5 separate regions of the Homo sapiens genome follow, and all the other regions are linked to region 5. Evidence: promoter capture Hi-C in human tissues and cell types (Jung and others, 2019). All regions are on one chromosome and are shown on one strand. Each heading gives the region's core, a stretch centred on a gene start or on the middle of the fragment in contact. The rest is flanking DNA. Distances are from core to core; before and after follow the strand shown.

What was found. Contacts are between HindIII fragments. The study calls those that stand out against the background at their distance.
Region 1: the fragment with the promoter of MICALL2 here is called in contact with the fragment with the promoter of EIF3B in region 5 in 1 of the 25 tissues and cell types used here (lymphoblastoid cells).
Region 2: a contact is called between a fragment that was not itself captured here and the fragment with the promoter of EIF3B in region 5, in 1 of the 25 tissues and cell types used here (dorsolateral prefrontal cortex).
Region 3: a contact is called between a fragment that was not itself captured here and the fragment with the promoter of EIF3B in region 5, in 2 of the 25 tissues and cell types used here (heart right ventricle and lymphoblastoid cells).
Region 4: a fragment that was not itself captured here is called in contact with the fragment with the promoter of EIF3B in region 5 in 3 of the 25 tissues and cell types used here (lymphoblastoid cells, mesenchymal stem cells and spleen).

The regions. Positions count from the first base shown.
Region 1 is chr7:1,458,020-1,460,719 of GRCh38, forward strand. MICALL2 (MICAL like 2) reads right to left here and starts at 1,451. Exons shown (of 17, transcript NM_182924.4): 1 at 1,165-1,451. The coding sequence starts at 1,307. It overlaps MICALL2-DT (MICALL2 divergent transcript), which reads left to right and starts at 1,900. Exons shown (of 2, transcript XR_001745046.2): 1 at 1,900-2,248. RefSeq lists enhancers at 1-127, 128-850, 2,274-2,700 and a silencer at 1,224-1,943. The HindIII fragment of the contact is 47,250 bases long and covers 1-2,700 here.
Region 2 is chr7:1,779,354-1,782,053 of GRCh38, forward strand. No RefSeq gene overlaps it. Among named protein-coding and RNA genes, the nearest start is that of ELFN1-AS1, 38 kb to the left of the region's middle. The HindIII fragment of the contact is 9,526 bases long and covers 1-2,700 here.
Region 3 is chr7:1,627,987-1,630,686 of GRCh38, forward strand. No RefSeq gene overlaps it. Among named protein-coding and RNA genes, the nearest start is that of ELFN1, 41 kb to the right of the region's middle. The HindIII fragment of the contact is 6,415 bases long and covers 1-2,700 here.
Region 4 is chr7:1,609,600-1,612,299 of GRCh38, forward strand. No RefSeq gene overlaps it. Among named protein-coding and RNA genes, the nearest start is that of PSMG3-AS1, 41 kb to the left of the region's middle. RefSeq lists an enhancer at 1-16. The HindIII fragment of the contact is 8,361 bases long and covers 1-2,700 here.
Region 5 is chr7:2,353,516-2,356,215 of GRCh38, forward strand. EIF3B (eukaryotic translation initiation factor 3 subunit B) reads left to right here and starts at 1,312. Exons shown (of 19, transcript NM_001037283.2): 1 at 1,312-1,905. The coding sequence starts at 1,407. It also overlaps a transcript of SNX8 not described here. RefSeq lists enhancers at 103-658, 329-398 and silencers at 1,199-1,338, 1,519-1,608, 1,659-1,768. The HindIII fragment of the contact is 17,363 bases long and covers 1-2,700 here.

The DNA.
Region 1 (2,700 bases), core at 201-2,700, 900 kb before region 5:
TCCTGGCGAGGGAGAGCGGCTGCTGCCCAAACGCCAAATGGAAGCCCCTGGTGGCTCCACGAATGCATGTCACAACCTCAGAGCAGGGGCCGAGGCTGTTGCTCAAGACCCCAGCTTCCTGCAGAGAGTGGGACTGGCAGGACAGTGTCCAGGGGCACAGGGGAGGAGCCCCGGATCTGCGCAACGGGCTGGGGCTGTGTGACCTGAGCAAGGACCCCTCCTCTTAGCCTCGGTTCTCTGGTCTGCACAGCTGCGGCCTGACAGAGGCCCCAGGTGCTGCCTGTGGCTCCTCCCAACCCCGAGACCTTCCCACCAAAAACACACTCAGGAGAACGCTTTGCCCAGAAGGTGCCTGGGCTGCAGGTGGCCGTTGAGGGCCCCCCTTCCTGAGCGTCTGGCCCCCAGCCCCGACACACAGATCTCTGTCCCAGCAAGCCTGGTCCCAGTCATTTAGCCAAAGAGCGTTTGCTGAGTGAATAAACAATGGAGCAGGTCCAGGCTCGGGCCAAGATTCAGCAACGGGCAGGGCCAGCTGCCCAGCTACACACGCCAAGACCCTCCTGGGGAGAGACAGCCTAGTCCTCAACCCCTGCCACCTCCTGCTGCTCCCAGAGATGGGGGCTGTTCTCCATCTCGGGCCCTATCACCCGGGGCCTCAGAGGCCCGGCTGGCAGCAGCACCTGGGGTCTGGGGGCTTCCTGCCCTGCACTGGCCGCTCCCCCACAGTGGCCCTGGCCACATCCCCCCAGGGGCCTGAACAGGCTGGGGGAGGGTCAGTGCCCATACGAGGGCTATCCAGGGACCCCATCTGGTGGCCAGGCCCCTGGGCAGTGAGAGCCTCGGAGGGCCCAAAGAGGCAGCTCTGCTGGCCTTTCCCAGGGACACAGAGGGGGACTGGACTGAAGCCAGGGCCCAGGAGCCGCCCTGAGTCACGTCTGACTCAGCCGGCGGGCGGGGGATGCCATGGCTCTGGCCCAGCTGCATTCGGTGTCCGGGCACACTGAGGCCACTGAGGACAGCCTCGGGGGGCTGCACGGTGGGCTGTGCCTGCCCAGTCCCACGCCTCGGCTCCCCATCCCCCAGCCGCCCGGGCCTCAGTTTCCCCGCCCGTGTCAGCGCGCAGCCGAACAGCAGAAGAATCAAAGGGCGCCAGGCAGGACTTACATGAGGTCGGGCCGGTGGCGGTGCAGGATGGCGCAGAAAGCCAGGCCGTCGCGGAACGACGTGGTCATGTTGCAGATATTCACGTCGCGGTAGCCCTCGCACTGCTGCCGGCACCACTGTTGCAGCGCCCTGATGGCCGCCATGTGGGCGGCGCGCCCGCCGCGCGGCGGAACCGCCCTCCGACACCTTCCCGCGGCTGTGCCGCGACCGCCCGGCCGGCGGGACAGACGCTGGGACCGCTACGGAACCGCCAGACCCACGGCGCCCAGCCCCAGCTGAGCCGGACTGAGGGCGACGAGTGCCGGGTCCCTAAGAGAAGCCGAGCCCGGCCCCGCCCCCGCCGGCCCCGCCTCCTTGTAGGCCCCGCCCCCAGCCGCCAAGTCCTGCCTCCGGATAGGCCCCGTCCTCACACCTCCCAGCCCCGGCATAGGCTCCCGCCCAGGCAGGCCCCACCTCCCGACAGGCCCCGCCCCCAGCCGCCGGGTCCTGCCTCCTGATAGGCCCCGTTCCCACGCCTCCTGGCCCCGGCACAGGCTCCCGCTCCAGGCAGGCCCCGACTCCGGACAGGCCCCGCCCCCAGCCTCCAGGTTTTGCCTCCCGAGAGGCCCCGCCCCACGCCGCCCGGCCCCAGTACGGGCTCGCGCCCTAGGCACGTCCCGCCTCCTGGTAAGTCCCGCCCCCACGCTGTCAGGTCCCGCCCGACAGGCCCCGCCCCACGCCGCCTGGCCCCTCCCCAGGCCCCGCCCCGCCGCTGAGGGCCGAGACCCCCAACCGGTGAAGGGGCGCGGTCTGCTTGGGGGTCCTGCCATTCTGGACCCCTGCGGAGACCTGGAATTTTCTTTTTCGCCGCCCCACCTCCCACCACCATCTCACCCCACCGCCATGGAGAAGAGGCAGGAAAGGCCGTTGACAAACGGGGACACTGAGGCTCGAACACCCTGCCCTGTCTAGGGCCTCAGCCCTCGGCAGCCCGGCCTCCCGGGGAGCAGGAGGCGCCTTGTGTTTCAGGGTTTCAAAGGACGTCCGCATCTGGTTTCTCTTTCCAGGCCGCTACATGCCAGCGGGGGTTCCAGGCAAGGCAGAGGTGAGGCCTGGGCATTGCCAGAGGAGAAACTGAGGCCAGGAAGGGGGCCGTGGAGCCGGAGTTGCACAGCTGGCCTGTGCTTTTCTTCTGGGGGCCTGTGGGCAGGATCTGTTCCTGGGGCAGGAGATTCCTCAGGCTGACTTGCAGGGTAGTTCCAATTTTCCACTTTGAGCTGTGACAGAAGAAATAAGGAAAGTCCCTCTGCTGGGGCCCTAAATTATCCCAGACTGGCCCCTGGCCCCGTTATCCTTGGGGAACCTTGTCTGTGGCCACGGGGGCTGGACGAGGGCGGAATCACTGACACCAGCCATGTGAGGGGGGCCTACCCTCCTGGCTGTGGGGCCAGGGCTTGTCTGGGCAGGGCCTGCAGGAAGGAAGGTGTTTTCCCGCAGTAGCCCCTGGCAGGGAGTCAGGGCAGCTTCTCTGTGCCCCTTGGGAGGAGGAGAAACTGA
Region 2 (2,700 bases), core at 130-2,629, 570 kb before region 5:
AATTAGCCAGGTGTGGTGGCATGCACCTGTAGTCCCAGCTACTTGGGAGGCTGAGGTGGGAGGATCACTTGAGCCCAGGAGTTCAAGGCTGCAGTGAGCTATGATTGTGTCACTGCACTCCAGCCTGGGCAACAGAGTGAGACACTGTTTTTTAGAAAAGCATTATGACCAAATGTATACACAGTCGTGCGCCGCGTAGAAACATTTTGGTCAGTGACTAACTGCACATCCGACAGGGGTCTCATGAGAGATTGTAGTGGATCTGAAGATTCCCTGTCGCCTGGTGCTGTGGTGGCCATCGTCACGTCACCGTGCAGTACGTTACTCGTGTGTGTATGTGTGTGTACGCACCCGTGATGCTGGGGTAAACAAGCCCTCTGCACCACCAGTCATAGGAAAGTCTAGCACATACAATTACGTCCAGTGCACAGTACTTGCAAATGATGATAAACCACTGTGTCACTAGTTCATGTATATACTATCCTATACTTTTTTTTTTTTTTTTTTTTTTGAGATGGAGTCTCACTCTGTCGCCCAGGCTGGAGTGCAGTGGCGCGATCTCGGCTCACTGCAAGCTCTGCCTCCCGGGTTCACGCTATTCTCCCGCCTCAGCCTCCCGAGTAGCTGAGACTACAGGCGCCTGCCACCGCGCCCTGCTAATCTTTTGTGTTTTTAGTAGAGATGGGGTTTCACTGTGTTAGCCAGGATGGTATCGATCTCCTGACCTCATGATCCGCCCGCCTCGGCCTCCCAAAGTGCTGGGATTACAAGCGTGAGCCGCCACACCCGGCCAACTTTTTTATCATGATCTTAGAGTATACTACTACTGATTAAAAACAAAAACAAAGTAACTATAAAGCAGCCTCAGGCAGGTCCTTCAGGAGGGATTGCTGAAGCCCTCCATTGGGACAGGATATGGAGGGGAAGTCAGTGATATTGGCGATCCTGACCCCGTGTAGGCCTAGGCTAATACTGGGCTAATATGTGTGTTTCTGTTTGTAACAAAAAATTTTTTAAGTAGAAAAAAGGGTACAGTGGGTCATGCCTGTAATCCCAGCACTTTGGGAGGCCGAGGCAGGAGGATAACCTGAGGTCAGGAGTTCAAGACCAGCCTGGACAACATGGTGAAACCCCGTCTCTACTAAAAATACAAAAATTAGCCAGGCATAGTGGCATGTGCCTGTAATCCTAGCTTCCCAGGAGGCTGAGGCAGGAGAATTGCTTGAACCTGGGAGGCGGAGGTTGCAGTGAGCTGAGATCGTGCCACTGCACTCCAGCCTGGATGACACAGCGAGACTCCATCAAAAAAAAAAAAAAAAAAAAAAGGTAGAAAAAAGTTTCAAAAATACTAGGTTGGTGCAAAAGTAATTGCAGTTTTTGCCATTAAAAGTAATGGGATTAAAAAGTAATGGTATTATTTTTGCACCAACCTTAATAGAAAAAAACTTACTTACAAAATAAAGAAAGAAAATATTTTTGTACAGCTGTACAACGTGTTTGTGTTTTAAGCTAAGTATTACCAAAAAGTAAAAATTTTTTTAAAGTTTACAAAGTAACAGTAAGCTAAGGTTACTTTATTATTGAAGAAAAAATATTTTTAATAAACAGAGTATAGCTTAAGTATACAGTGTTTATAAAGTCTTCAGTAGGCCAGGAAGGGTGGCTCACACCTATAATCCCAGCATTTTGGGAGGCCGAGGCAGTTGGATCACAAGAAGTCAGGAGTTCGAGACCAGCTTGGCCAACATGGCAAAACCCCATCTCTACTAAAAATACAAAAATTAGCAGGGTTTGATGGTGCACGCCTGTAGTCCCAGCTACTCAGGAGGCTGAGGCAGAAGAATCGCTTGAACCTGGGAAATAGAGGTTGCAGTGAGCCGAGATGGTGCCACTACACTCCAGCCTAGGCGACAGAGCGAGACCCTGTCTCAAAAAAATAGTCTCCAGTGGTGCACAGTAACGTCCCAGGCCTTCACACTCACTCACCCTCTCTCACCGACTCACCCAGAGCAACTTCCACTCCCGCAAGCTCCGTTCGTGCTAAGTGCCATATCAGGTACGCCACTTTAAAGTCACTGATCCTGTGTTTTCACGGCACCTTCTCTGTGTTTAGATGTGTTGAGACATACAGACATACAGTATTGTGCTGCAGTTGCCTGCAGCGTTCAGTGCTGTCACCTGCTGTGCACATTTGGAGCCCTGGAGCCCAGGAGCCACAGGCCACACCGTACAGCCTGGCCATGGGGTAGGCTCTGCCATCTTAGAGTACACTACTGGATCTGTGGAAGGTCACTTACACGTGACGAAATCGTCCAACAACATGCGTGCAGACAAACAGATATGGTGCTATAACATTATAGCAATATGCATATAATATTCTACGCATGTCTCAGAATGTATCCCCAGGGTTGAGCATTGCTTGACGGTACATATAACACTATTGAGGTAGGAGGTGGGAGTCAACTCCAGACCTGATTGAAGACTAGCTAAAACACAGAAGAGGCACTGAAAGCTCTTCTCCCTAAGACAGGCCCACCAGCGCCGCAACAGTTTAGCATTGCCATGGCAACACCCGAAAGTTACCACCCCTTTTCATGGCAGTGACCTGGAAGTTATCATCCCTTTTCTAGAAATTTCTAAATAACTTGCCCTTTAACTTACGTATATTTGAAAGTGAAGTTTGGGCGTAGTGGCTCACAG
Region 3 (2,700 bases), core at 1-2,500, 730 kb before region 5:
CTCCTGACCTTGTGATCTGCCCTCATTGGCCTCCCAAAGTGTTGAGATTATAAGCGTGAGCCACCGCCCCCGGCCTCTTTGCTCATTTTTAAGTTGAGTGGTTTGTCTTTTTGTTCTTGAGTTAAAAGAGTTTTTTATATTATACTATACTATATAGTTCTTTATACAATATTTTGGAGAGTAGACCTCTTATCAGATATATGACCTATATGATTTGCAAATATTTTCTTCTATAAATGTTTGTGTGAGGCAGGGGTCCAGCTTCATTCTTTAAAATGTGGCTCTCCAGCTGTCCCAGCGTCATTTGTTGAAAAGACAATTCTTTCACCATTGAATGGCCTTGGCATCCTTGTAAAAAACCAGTTGTTCATAGATGTATGAATTTACTTATGGATTCTTACTGATCAATACGTTTTTCCTTTTTTTTTTTTTTTTGAGATGGAGTCTTGCTCTATTGCCCAGGCTGGAGTGCAGTGGTGTGATCTTGGCTCACTGAAATCTCTGCCTCCTGGGTTCAAGCGATTCTCCTGCCTCATCCTCCCAAGTAGCGGGGACTACAGGCACCCACCACCACACCCAGCTAATTTTTGTAGTTTAATTTTAATTTTTTTTGAGATACAAGTCTAGATCTGTTGCCCAGGCTGGAGTGCAGTGGTGTGATCTTGGCTCACTGCAACCTCTGCCTCCTGGGTTCAAGCGATTCTCCTGCCTCAGCCTCCCAAGTAGCTGGGACTACAGGCATGTGCTACCACGCCTGGCTAATTTTTGTATTTTTAGTAGAGAAGAAAGAAACTTTCAAACTATTTTCCAAAGTGGTTGTACAATTTTGTATTTCCATTAGCAGCGTCTAAAGAGTCCCGGTTCCTCCAATCTTTACCAGTACTTAATATGGTCAGTCTTTTTAACTTTAGGCATTCTAATAGGTGTTCAGAGCTATCTTATGGTTTTAATTTGAATTTTCCTAACGACTAATGACATTGTATATCTTTTCAGGTGCTTACTTGCCATCTATGTGTCTTTTTGGTGAAGTATCTGTTCAAATCTTTGGCCCATTTTAAAATTCAGTTGTTTGTTTTCAGATCTATGGTTTGCAAATATTTTCTCACAGCCTGTGAGCTGTCCCTTCATTCTCCTTACAGTGAGTTTTAAAGAGCAGAAGGGGCTTGGCGTGGTGGCTCATGCCTGTAATCCTAGCACTTTGGGAGGCTGAGGTGGGCAGATCACTTGAGGTCAGGAGTTTGAGACCAGCTTGGCCAACATAGTGAAACCCCATCTCTACCAAAAAAATTAGCTGGGCACGTTGGCAGGCATCTGTAGTCCCAGCTACTCAGGAGGCTAAGGTGGGAGAATCGCTTGAACCCAGGAGGTGGAGGTTGCAGTGAGTGGAGATTGTGCCACTGCCCCCAGCCTCGGCAATAGAGTGAGGCTCTGTCTCAAAAAAATAAAATAAAATAAAGAGCAGAAGGTCTTTAATTTTGATGATGTCCAGTTTATTAAGTTTTATTTGGATCACACTTGATGCCATGTCTAAAAAATCTTTACCTGTAAGAAAAGAGCGCAGAGATGCTCTTCTATGTTTTCTTATGGAAGCTTTATAATTCTAGGTTTCACATTTAGGTCTATGATCCATTTTGAGTTTACTTTTGTATATAGTGTGAACTATGGACCAAAACTCCTTTTTTGCGTGAACAGATATCCAAACGTTGCAACCCATTTGATGAGAAGCCTCTCTTTTCTCCACTAAGTTGCCTTTGCATCTGTGTCAAAATTAGTTGTCCATGTATATGGGCATCTATTTCGAGACTCTTATTCTGTTTTATTGATCTATTTGTCTGTATTTATAGCAATGCCACACTGTTTTGATCACAATAGTTTTGTCATATGTCTTGAAATCAGGGAGTGCCAGTGCTCCAACATCACTCTTTTCAATGTTGTTTTGGGTCTTCTAGGTCCTTTGCATTCCATATGAATTTCACACTTGGCTTGTCAATTTCTGGAACACAAATAAGAAAAACTGGCTGGGGATGGTGGCTTATGCCTGTAATCCTAGCACTTTGAGGGGCTGAGGTGGTTGGATCACCTGAGATCAGGAGTTGAAGATCAGCCTGGCCAACATGGTGAAACCCCGTTTCTACTAAAAATACAAAAAATTAGCTGGGTATGGTGGCATGCACCTGTAATCCCAGTTACTTTGGGAGGCTGAGGCAGGAGAATTGCTTGAAACCAGTAGGTGGAGGTTGCAGTGAGTCGATATCGCGCCACTGCACTCCAGCCTGGGCGACAGAGCCAGACTCCATCTGAAAGAAAAAAAGAATAGAAAAACCTGTCCCAGGCTTGCACTCAGCCCCTGACAGCTGGCAGGTGTCATGGTTTATATTATTTTCTCTGCAGCAGGGTGGTCTTCCCAGGAGCTTGCCTGCTTCTCCCTGGCATGGCTCCTCTGCCAGCCTGTCTGTCCACTCCCATCTGTCTCCCTACACAGAGACACACGGCCTTTCCCATTACTCACGGAGTTTCTTGGGGCTGGAAATCATCACGTTTTCTCTGCAGTACACAAAGAGCCCAGCAGTGTTGGGTACATGGAAGGTTTTTCCTAAGGTTTTGATAATATTTCCAGACTAATTCTTTATATAATGGAATAAAATCAGTATGCTAGTGGGGATGTCTAATGCTGTGAGTTCCCACTCACCCCATCCACCT
Region 4 (2,700 bases), core at 25-2,524, 740 kb before region 5:
TCTGGAGGTTGAGGCAGGAGAACTGCTTGAGGTTTCAGTGAGCTGAGATTGTGCCACTGCACTCCAGGCAGGGCAACACAGAGAGACTCCATCTCAAAACAAAAAAAATAAAAGGAAAGAAAGAAAGAAAAAAAAGAAATGATTTCCAGGGTTCTGCTTTGATCAGCTGGTTAGGCAGTTGGTGTCATTCGCTGTGGTAGGAGACTGAGTAAGGGGAGCGGTTCCTGCAGGGCGTCTGGAGGTGCTGGCCTCCAAAGAGAGACATTTAGGGACCATCCATGGGGGTGGTTATTCGAGGTAAGGTCACAGGTGAGCTCCCCTAGGGAGGGGGAGTGAGTGAGAGGGCAAGAGAGCCTCAAAGTGAACCTCTAGGAGCCCCACAGTTGCGGGCTGGCTCAATCGGGGCTGAGAGAGAAGTCAAGGAGGCAGGAGGAGAAGCGGGGGGCTGGGGAGCTCCGGGAAGAGAGCTTCAAGGGGGAGAAGGTGGGCACCTGTGTCTCAGGTGCCACAGCGCAGCAGGCTTGGCTGGACCTTGGCTGAGTCTGCAGCCTGGCACTGTCTGCCTTCCCCGGCTCCCAGCATGACTTGCAGCTCCTCTTCCCACCACGCCGGCCTGGCACTGGGTCTCCCTTGTGGACCCCACGCACTGGGCTGTCACTGGACTCAGGTTGCCCTGGCTGGTCGTACAGAGCTTGCTGTGCCCAGCCTGGACACCCCCGGAGGTGGCGAGCAGCGGGCATCAGACCTCTCCCGCACCCTTTCGTCTTCCCATGAGTCTGACCACACAGTGCGGGCTGCCCACTCGTGAGCCCCCGGGGGAAGGGCTAACGTTATCTGCATTTTGCACGTGGGGAAAATGAGGCTGAGAAAGGGGTCAGGAGCTGAGGATGGAAAGAGCTAAGATGGGTCTCCAGGAAAGCAGGTTCCCATGCACCGGTCAGCACCCCCCTCCTGCTTCCTGCACCATTCATGAGACCCCTCCATAGGGCTGAGGCCCACCCAGCGAGGGAAACGCCGATGATGAGGGAGGGAGGGACCTCTCAGCGCCCAAGAATGTGACCAGCCTCCCAGGGCGGGGTATCTGCATGGGGACAGGCCTGGGGCCCCCCTGCAGGCCAGACAGAAGGAGCCACTGAGGGCCCAGCTGGCAGACCGCAGCCTGGGGGGTGGGGGCAGCGGGGCGGCGGGGGCAATGGCTCTGAGGGTGGGCGAGGACCAAGTGCCGCCAAGGAGCGATAATGATGGCTTGAGTCAAAGCCGCCCCGCGTCTCGCCCGCGCTGGCATCTCCAGCAGCACCGTGCCAATTAAAGATGAGTTGAGCATATCATTAGTTTCCCAATCGTCAAGAATCTCATTAGGGGAGTCTTAGATCCACCTGAGCAGCTCTGCCGATTGTCCACACTGGAGCTGCCGAGCTGGGGGCAGGGGGAGTTGCTGCGTGTTGATGAGTCGTAGCGGGGTTTTGCCAGGCAGGGCGCTGGATTGAACCGGCCCAGCAGTGCCCAGGGCCTAGGTCTCCTGGCTGACTGGTCAGTGGTCCTCAGCCTGTGTCTCCCTCCTCCAGTGGGGTGATGGGCTAGACTGGTCAGAAATCTACTGGGCGTCAGTTCGGATGCCACATTTCGACCAGACTTGGCTCAGGGGCCATCTCGTCTACCCCATCATTTTATAATGGGAGAAACAGAGGCCCACAGAGGTGGGGGAGCCCCTGGGATACACAGGGGCTGGAAGAGACCCATAGAGCTTGGTCTAATCCAACCCTAAAGCAGATCAGACTCCCATCTCTGTTGTCTCAGCTGAGTGACCATTTCACTTGTGCCTTTTTTTTATTTTGAGACCGAGTCTTGCTCTATTGCCAGGCTGGAGAGCAGTGGTGTGATCTCGGCTCACTGCAACCTCCGCCTCCTGGGTTCAAGCGATTCTCCTGCCTCAGCCTCCCGAGTATCCCAAGTAGCTGGGATTATTGGCATCCGCCACCATGCCTGGCTAATTTTTGTATTTTTAGCAGAGGTGGGGTTTTGCCATGTTGGCCAGGCTGGTCTTGAACTCCTGACCTCAAGCGATCCGCCTACCTCGGCCTCCCAAAGTGCTGGGATTACAGGCGTGAGCCACAATGCCCAGCTGCACCTCGTTTATAACAAAGAGGCCCCACCCTTCCCTTGGCCTCTTGTTCCATCTGTGCCCATCAGGGTCCTTTACTAATGAGTCACAGAGACCTGGCTCAAATTTGCTGAGGCAAGAAAGGAATTTCCTAGAAGTCAGGACTCTGTGGTTTTGCAACAGAAGGAAGGCTCAGAGATCCCAGGACGTCTCCAGCCTCATCCCTGCTGCTCTCAGCACATCTACCTCTGGCCGGGCAGCCTCTTCCTCCTGGGGGGTGGGGATGGGGTTACTGGGGGACAGAGAGCTCCAGAGCCACATGCCATGCCATCTGCCACCGGGCGGGATCTGCGCGTCTTTCTTTAGCCTCAGCTGGGAAAACCCCACGGAAGGACTGTGCATGGCCTGGCTTGGTCAGTTGCTCACCCTGAGTCCATACGGCAGCTTCCATTAGAACTGCCTGGCTGGGGTTTATTCATTCATCTCACGTTCACTAAGACTGGGCTGTGTGTCAGACATTGTTCTGTATCTATCTGGGAGAGGCAGACCATAAACAAGGGAACCAGTAATAAAGATAATTCAGATAGTGATAGGTGCTC
Region 5 (2,700 bases), core at 62-2,561:
AAGTGATCCTCCTGTCTTGGCCTCCCAAAGTACTGGGAAGAGAGGTGTGAGCCACCGCGCAGGGCCTAGCCATTTTAATATGAAGTTTAGTATACAGTTCAGTGGCATCAAGTACATTCACCATGTTGTACCATCACCACCGTCATCTCCAAAACGTTCTCATCCTCCCAAATTGAAGGTCCGTCCCCGATAAACACTCCCCACTCTCCACCCCAGCCTCTGGGTACCACCTGTTTTATTTATTTATTTAATTTTCGTAGAGATGAGGGCTGGCGTGCGGGGGGTGGTGGTGCTATGTTGGCAAGGCTGGTCTCCAACTCCTAAGCTCAAGCGATCTTCCCACCTCAGCCTCCCAAAGTGCTGGGATAACAGGCGTGATCCACTGGGTTGTTTTCTAGGATGATTAAGACATCCCCCAACCAGTGGTTGTCCTCCACTCCGGCAAAAAACAAGATAGAAGCCACATGCACCCAATGCCCGTCCCGTGAGCACCCGCGCAGAGCGAACCGCTCCGGTCCCTCCGGAGTCAGCCTCGAGCTCCACGCGGCGAGGACCCGCCCCCGCCCCCACGTGACCCGCGCTGTCCCGCGCTGAAGGCGGCGGCCTCGGATGGACTGAACCACTGTGAAAGCCCGAATGGGGGGAAACAGGCAGTGACGGCCGCTAGGGAAGGACTGGGGGTAAGCGATTAAAGAAACTTCCATACATTTTTGTATCGCGCCAGGCAGTCGTCCTTCTAGTCGTGTGGGCCCTCTCTGGCTCGCCCCGAATTCCTTTTCTATTTTGAAGTAGTCTGTCCTTTTGCTCAGTCAGTAGGCGAGTCCAAGTGACAGACACGGACAGGGGGGACTTTAGTAACGTAAACTAAACGGTTTCCCTAGCGAAAGGCTCAGACGCCCTGAGCAATCGCCTGTTGAGTCTCCACTCTTCCAGGGTATTAACTGTTGAGTTAGAGGACATTTTCCTAGCATTCCGGGTACTAAAATCATTTCTTGTCCCCGCCTTCAGCTCCACAAATAGTTCAGTCCCGCCCCGCAGCGTCCGACGGGAAAGGAAAGGGGGAGGACGCCATGTTGGACGGAACCATCTGCTGCCACACATGGGGTGGTCAATGCTCCCATGAGTTTACTGATGCACAGAAACAACCTTGCTGAATGGAATTAAGCACTTTCTTGTCACAAATATATCAGTTTGATGATTTTCGGGCGCGGTCTTGTGGATGCGAGTCCTCTCAGGGTCGTTCGTGAGGCCCCAGGGCGTGGGTGCGCCCCCCGCCCCGCGGCCTTGGTGCGGCCTCCCCGTCGCACGCACATGGCTGGGCTGTAGCCGTCGCGGCGCGCGGTGCGGCCTGGGAGAGTCGGAAGCGCGGCGGCCGCGGAGCCCTGCGAGTAGGCAGCGTTGGGCCCATGCAGGACGCGGAGAACGTGGCGGTGCCCGAGGCGGCCGAGGAGCGCGCCGAGCCCGGCCAGCAGCAGCCGGCCGCCGAGCCGCCGCCAGCCGAGGGGCTGCTGCGGCCCGCGGGGCCCGGCGCTCCGGAGGCCGCGGGGACCGAGGCCTCCAGTGAGGAGGTGGGGATCGCGGAGGCCGGGCCGGAGTCCGAGGTGAGGACCGAGCCGGCGGCCGAGGCAGAGGCGGCCTCCGGCCCGTCCGAGTCGCCCTCGCCGCCGGCCGCCGAGGAGCTGCCCGGGTCGCATGCTGAGCCCCCTGTCCCGGCACAGGGCGAGGCCCCAGGAGAGCAGGCTCGGGACGAGCGCTCCGACAGCCGGGCCCAGGCGGTGTCCGAGGACGCGGGAGGAAACGAGGGCAGAGCGGCCGAGGCCGAACCCCGGGCGCTGGAGAACGGCGACGCGGACGAGCCCTCCTTCAGCGACCCCGAGGACTTCGTGGACGACGTGAGCGAGGAAGGTGAGGGCGCCCGGGGCGGGGCTGGCGAGCGGCGCGGGAGCGTGGCTGGGGTTCCCGAGGTGGGAGATATCGTCGGGCTGTGCCACCGGTTCGTGCAGAAGTTCCAGCGAGGGTGTCCGTGTGTTCCTGAGAAGCCACCGAGGGAGGGGTTCCCGAGTGCCCTGGAAGTGTTCTGAGAGCCCAGCGCCTCCCCTTTTCTTTCCTGAAAAAGGGGACAGGGTGGAGCTCACTTCGGGAGCCAGGCATTTGCATGACAACCAGAAATCTGAGAGGGTGGGAGAGGGCACATGGGGTACTCCGTTATGGCTGGGTGTGCTGTGAGTGTAGCAGCTGGGGGTACGGCAAAAACCGAAGACCCGGTGGCAGGTTTGCGGGTCTACGTGTCCCCAGAGCTGACCAGTCAGACCTCCCAAGGTCTGGATCGGAGGAACAGCTTGTGGCAGAGCCGGTGATTTTGTCCTCCTGCCCCTCAGAATTGTCCATCTCCAGAGACTTCCTTAGTGGGACAGGCACCCTGTGAAATTCCAGTTTGATTTTTCTTTATCTCTTGCGCTAAATCTATAAAGAGAGTTATTTTTCCAGGTTTTAATATTGCCGATAACAGCCAGCTTTGCCTTCATCTCAACCTTGATTGGATTTACAGGCATATTTTTGCTTCCTGTCTCAGAGATTTTTTCCTGAAGCTACTTCTGATGAGAGCTGGTCTCATTTGTTTTTCTTTTGTTTTTTAGCTCTCTTAAGCCTTTAAGTTGGGAACACATCAGCCTCTGCAGATTGGCTAAGTTGATACTAGAG